2 separate regions of the Homo sapiens genome follow, and region 2 is linked to region 1. The links are contacts of gene promoters, found by promoter capture Hi-C in human tissues and cell types (Jung and others, 2019). All regions are on one chromosome and are shown on one strand. Each heading gives the region's core, a stretch centred on a gene start or on the middle of the fragment in contact. The rest is flanking DNA. Distances are from core to core; before and after follow the strand shown. Region 1 has its middle 11 kb from the start of KRT6B. Region 2 holds the start of KRT74 (keratin 74).

The links. The method cuts DNA at HindIII sites, captures the fragments that hold promoters and counts their contacts. A contact is called where the count stands out against the background at its distance.
Region 2: the fragment with the promoter of KRT74 here is called in contact with a fragment that was not itself captured in region 1 in 2 of the 25 tissues and cell types used here (H1 embryonic stem cells and small bowel).

Annotation. Positions count from the first base shown.
Region 1 is chr12:52,461,098-52,464,218 of GRCh38, forward strand. No RefSeq gene overlaps it. Among named protein-coding and RNA genes, the nearest start is that of KRT6B, 11 kb to the left of the region's middle. The HindIII fragment of the contact is 6,054 bases long and covers 1-3,121 here.
Region 2 is chr12:52,572,588-52,575,753 of GRCh38, forward strand. KRT74 (keratin 74) reads right to left here and starts at 1,256. Exons shown (of 9, transcript NM_175053.4): 1 at 720-1,256; 2 at 1-80. The coding sequence starts at 1,190. The HindIII fragment of the contact is 9,071 bases long and covers 1-3,166 here.

The sequences.
Region 1 (3,121 bases), core at 240-2,739:
CCTGTAGCCCAGTTAAGTTGACACATAAAATTAACCATCATGGTAACAGTGGGTAAGAGTGGGTAATAGCATTAGCAACCAAGATCTAGGTACAAGATGTGCTCACTGCTGCTGGTGTGTCACTGCTTCTGGGCCCTGTTAGGTGACAATAAATACATTTATATGTATTATTATATGTAACAATTTGTATCTATCTATTCAAGTCTCCAACTTGAATTCATTACCACATGGATCATTCTAGCATCTTCTCTTGCTTATCTACAACCTCACATAACAACAGCAAAAACCCTGGCTGCGACTATCTGCTATCCATTTACTTAATTGTTTTGTTCCTCAGTATGTATTGTGATGGGACCATATAACATGAATGGAACACATAACATCCATGGAAGTTGCCACATAAAATTAATCATCAGAACATATGTTGTGGAATAGAATTAAAATTAGAGGGAAGATGGATTGGAGACAGGGCTGACTTGCAGCTCCCACTTTGAAGAACAGAACATCATATGGAGACTCACACTGTGAACTTTTGCTCCAGGAACCACTGCAGAAGCATACCATGAAAACAGAAAGAAATCACAGATTTTTTGAAAAGAGAAGAAGGCCATTGCAAATTCCACAAGACAGATGAAGAACTCCAGTCACAAAAGACATAAACCGTTGAGAGCTTTATGACCCCAGCCATCACCTGAGAAACCTGAATACTTATCCTGGCCAACTTAGGGCAAGCTTATATTCCCCTTCTACTATCGCAGCTGGTGCTCTCTCAAAAGTGCCACCTCCTGGCTGGAGGCCAACCAACTCAGGACAGTACAGCAACTCAGGACAGAACAACCCTGCTCCAAAGAAGGAGAAAAAAACGGCTCATTCCACTGCCTGCAACATTCTGGTCTGTCGATGTGACAACTTCACTGCTAGCATAACCAGAATTTGAGAAAACCAGCACACTAAACATATCAACAACGAAAGACTCTCACAGAGTCTACTTCACACCCCTGCCACCTCCACCAGTCATAAAAAGAAATCAAATAATGGCATTCATAGCAGCCTGGCTAAAGTTGGAGACCATTATCCTAAGTGAAGTAACTCAGGAATGGAAAACCAGACATTGCGTGTTCTCACTTGTAAGCGGGAGCTAAGCTATGAGGACTCAAAGGCATACAAATGATATAATGAAGTCTGGGGACTTGGGGAGAAGGGTAGAAGTGGGGTGAGGGATAAAAGACTACACACTGGGTACATTGTACACTGCTTGGGTGATGAGTGCACCAGAGTCTCAGAAATCACCACTAAAGAACATTTCCATGCAACCAAACACCACCTGTTCCCCCAAAACTATTGAATTTTTTAAAAACACATCTTGCAGAATAGAAAAAAAAATTTAAATTATGGTGGAATATTTTTGTGGGAGTTCCCAGATATCTGGTAAAACATTTTTCAGGGTGAGGGTGTGTCTGTGAGTATGTTTCTGGATGAGATTAATATTTGAGTATATATACTGAGTAAAGCAAATTGCCTTACTTATGTGAGTGGGCCTCATTAAATTAGTTAAAGGGAAGAATAGAACAAACAGGTTAGTAAGAGAGAATTCCTTTTGCCTAATAGCATTTGAGCTGGGTTTTTTCTGCCTTTAGACTCAAACTAGAACATTTGCTTTCTTGGGTCTCCTGCTGGTCCACTGCAGATCTTGGGACTTGTCAGCCACCTAAACCACATCAACCAATTCTTTATAATCTCTCTCTCTCTCTAAATACATAGGTAAGTAGATTGATAGATGCAGATAGATAGATAGGTACAGATATATATATATATTTGTGTGTGTGTGTATATATATATGAGTGTGTATATATGTGTGTGTGTGTATATATATGTGTGTGTGTATATATATATGTGTGTGTGTATATATATATATATATATACCCTATAGTTTCCATTACTCTGGAGAACACTGACTAAAGCACAGGCATAGTGGTTTCAGAATTGTTAGTCATGCCACCATGGGAAGCAGCCTTATCAACTCAAGTACAATACTGACATACAGTTCTCACAAGTTTCTTTGCCTTTAGTCTCATAGACTCCACTCACTTGCAGAGTTCCTGATGTCAGCCTTTTTTCTTCCCATCCACTTCAGGGAGGTGATTTCACACATTTGTAATATAGTTAGATCCTTTTGCCACATTGTACATTCCATTCTAAGATCTTTCAATCTCATAAATCATTTTCTTTAATTTCAAACATTAAGGTTTACTCCACAGTATAAAATTCTATGAGCTTTCCCTAATAAAAATTCCACAGTATAAAGTTCTATGAGTTTTCCACCATAAAAAAATCCCAGCAAAGTACTTTGTGGATATCAACAAACTGATTCTAAAGTTTTTATGGCGAGGCAAAAGACCCAGAATAGCTAACACAATATTGAAGGAGAACAAAGTCAGAGGACTGCAAGCATCCTACTTTAAGACTTACTATGAAACTACAGTAACAAAGACACGGTGGTATTGGTGAAAGAATAGACAAATAGATCAAGGAACAAAACAGAGAGCCCAGAATTTGATCTACATAAATATAATCAACTGATCTTTGTCAAGGAAGCAAAGGCAATACAAAGTCAGCGTTTTCAACAATTGGTGCTGGAATAACTAGGTATCTACATGTAGAAAAACAAATTTAGATACGGGTCTTATATTCACCACAAAAATTAACTTAGAATGGATCATAACTCTAAATGTAAAATGCAAAACTGTAAAGCTCCTAGAAGATAACATAGGAGAAAGCCTTGATAACCTTAGGTATGACAATGACATTTTAGATACAATGCCAAAGTCAGGAACCATGAAAGATATAATTGATAACATGGACTTCATTAAAATTATTAATAAAACTTCTGCTCTGCAAAACACACTACCAAGAGAGTGAGAATTCAAGCCACAGACTGGAAGAAAATATTGGTAAAAGACATATTCAATAAGGACTATTATCCAAACTGCACAAAGAACTCTTAAAATTAACAGTAAGTAATAACTTGATTATAAAATGGGCCAAAGTCTTTAACAGACACATCACCAGTGCAGATATAAAAAATAGATGAGCATAGATCAGAGCAATGCAAATTAGCACA
Region 2 (3,166 bases), core at 6-2,505, 110 kb after region 1:
TTGCAGTTGTTCAGGTCCAGCTGCTGCAGCAGCTCCCACTTGGTTTCTAGAACCTGGTTCTGCTGCTCTAGGAAGCGTACCTGGAACCCAAATCAACAGACACCTGGAACCACAATGGGTGCAGTCATGCCCCCTGGACACACACCATTGACTCCCCAGGTTTGCCATAGATTGTTGTAGTCATTTTTGCTCATGTCTTGACTCTCCACCCTTGCCATTCCACACAAACTAGATCCTTTACAAGTGCTCATTTCCTAGCCTTCTGGACAAGGCATCACTGAGAACTCACTCAAGGAGTTTCCACAGCTTTCTTCTATTGCTCGGCCCTGGTCCCAGGAGATGTCCTTCCTTATGTCTCAACTAAGTGTCTCTTCCTGTACCATGAGCCCTTCCCTCTGAACACTGCTGGATTCTATTAGCCTTTCATGTTCTTGGAAGATCCAGCTGTCCTCAAGAAACTCATCACTTTTTTGTCAAGGAAGGGCTGCTCTTTACCCAGCTTCCCATCCTTCCCTGCAAAATCGCCAAAGAAGCCGATATATTCATGTATTCCTTTGTCCTCCGTGGCTCACAGACCTACTCTCCTTCCCTAATGGTGAGGAAGCCCTTCCTGAGGCCCAGCTGCACCTTTCCAGCCACAGTGTGCAGTCCATTCCCAGGCAGCAGGAAAACTGCTCAGGCCTCAGGGTGCGGCCTCATCCTCCTCCTATGAGACCCACCTTGTCAATGAAGGAGGCGAACTTGTCGTTCAGCACCTTGATCTGTTCCCGCTCCTGGGCGCGCACCTTCTGGATCTCAGGGTCCAGCTCCACGTTGAGGGGGGCCAAGAGGCTCTTGTTGACAGTGACCTGGTGGATGCCCCCAGGTGGGCACACAGACAAACATGCAGGCCCCAGGGCCACACTGCCAAACATACTGCCAGCAAAGCCACTGGCCCGGCCCCCTCCATACCCAGAGCCAGGCCTGAAGCCGTAACCTCCAGCCCGAACGCCGCCACCAGCCACATTGAAAGAAATACGCCGATTCCCTCCAAGGCTATAGAGGCTCCGACTGCCAAAGCCAGCGCCAGCCCCTCTGCCAGCTGCACAGTAAGAAGCCAGGCTACCCACAGCCTTCCTTGGCACCACTGCCGAATGCACACTGAAGTTGCCCTTGTCACCACTGGACTTGATGTTCAGTTGCCGACTCATGGTGGGAAAGGTTGAGTTGACAGAGCTGGAGAAAAGCAGTCTCCAAGGGGTAGAGAACACACTGATGGGGCACCCAGAGTGCTGCCTCCTTTTATCCCTGTTGAGCCCAGGACACCGGAAAAGGGCGTCTCTCCACTATCTCCTTTCCCCTGCTGATGGGCCAGGGGCCATGGGCAATTTGTAGAACAGAGATCTCCAAGCCCTTTGCAGCAACAAAGCTCTTCTGATAGCAAGTGGAATATGCTGCCCTTGCAGAGTGGAGTGGTCTAATTTGGAGTTTATCTGTGCTCCCTAATTAAGGACCTGAAGAGTTATCCCCTGAAGAGATCTCCTAGCTTTATTTTTCCAGTGCTACCTCCTTCTTGCTTAACCATCAGCAAGGAGCAGGGGAAATGCCTGGCTTTCCCCAGAGTAGACTCACCTGAAAAACCCCAGGTTTCTTCCCAAAAGAAACCATCTCTCTATTATAGGGTCTTGTGTGGAAGCTGGAATTTTTACCTCAGGGAAAAGAAGACATGGAAAGATGATTCTTCTTGGAAAGATGTCCTCAAAGATCTGGATCTGGGTAAGAAGCTCCAGGGTCCGTCCTTGGGCCATGCTAAGGACCACAGCTGTCTAGCAGTGAAGTGGACCCCAGGAAGGAAGAGGAATGACTCTGCAGCATCTGCATGCCCCCCTAGCAGGGATATTGTCTAGGGCCTTCTGTGTTGGGCAGGGCCTGGGTGGTGGTGACCTTGACATTGCCTTACAACCATGAGAACCTTTCCAGTCAGCTGCATTTCCTCCAGTTGGATTTTCTCTCCTGGATAAGATTATTTGTCCTACTCTAGGAAGTCAGGCAGGAGCTGGGATATTAGCCCCTGCACTCCCTGGGGAAACACCCTATGGCTGAAGTCACCAAGGAACAGGACCCCCTGAGTTTCACTCCCAGGTTCAGGGTGGGCTGTTCTGCCAGTTTCCTGGCAACTTCAGGGAGCACTCAATTTTCAAACAGGAAGTATCACTGCTTTATAGCTCAGGTAGTGTGGGTACAGTGCAATGTTAAAAAATTATTTCAGGGCTGGGCATGGTGGCTCACACCTGTAATCCCAGCACTTTGGGAGGCCAAGGAGGGCAGATTGCCTGAGGTCAGGAGTTTGAGTCCAGCCTGGCTAACATGGTGAAACCCCGCCTCTACTAAAAATACAAAAATCAGCCGAGCGCAGTGGTGCATGCCTGTAGTCGCAGCTACTCAAAAGACTGAAGTAGAAGAATCACTTGAACCTGGGAGGCAGAGGTTGCAGTGAGCCTAGATTGTGCCACTGCACTCCAGCCTGGGCAACAGAGCAAGACTCTGTCTCCAAAAAACAAAAAAAATTATTTCAAAGCTAGGTATCTGGCAGCTGCCCTCATGCAAGACTCTGACCACTTCCTATAACTAAACTGAGAACACTTGGCTTGTTTGGATCCAGCCGAGGGCAGAAGACAACTGCTCCCACTGCTGGGGAGGGAAAAGGAGAAGCTGACCTGGGCAGGGAGCGTGGAGCTTAGGCCTGGAAGCTGCCCCGGAAGAATTTCCCCTTCACAGGGTGTTTTCCTCTCAGCCCCTGAGGTAACGGTGGAAGGTCCTTCCCCAGGGACCCTGTCTCGGGGGGCTTTCCCGGCAGGGCCTAGCCCTACAGCACAGGAGCATGTAATCGAAGGGGTTGCTTGTGGTTTTCTAAGTCAGGTTGCAAGGGCAGCAGCAGGGGTGCCGCCAGATGCTGGGTTTGCCGCCCTCCTGTGCTGGAGTGTGCAAGACAAAAAATGGCGTGAGTTCCTTAACCTGGGGGTGACTGTCCTAGGGCCCCAGCCACCAAGAAGCCTGCAGACCAATGAGAGGAATCTACACAAAGAACTTAAAGTAGAGCCAAAGCTCTGGAATGACAGAAAAGCATTATGAACCACGAATCAGAGGTGCACTGAGGAATGGCTCATCTTGATTAGGGTTTTTGGGG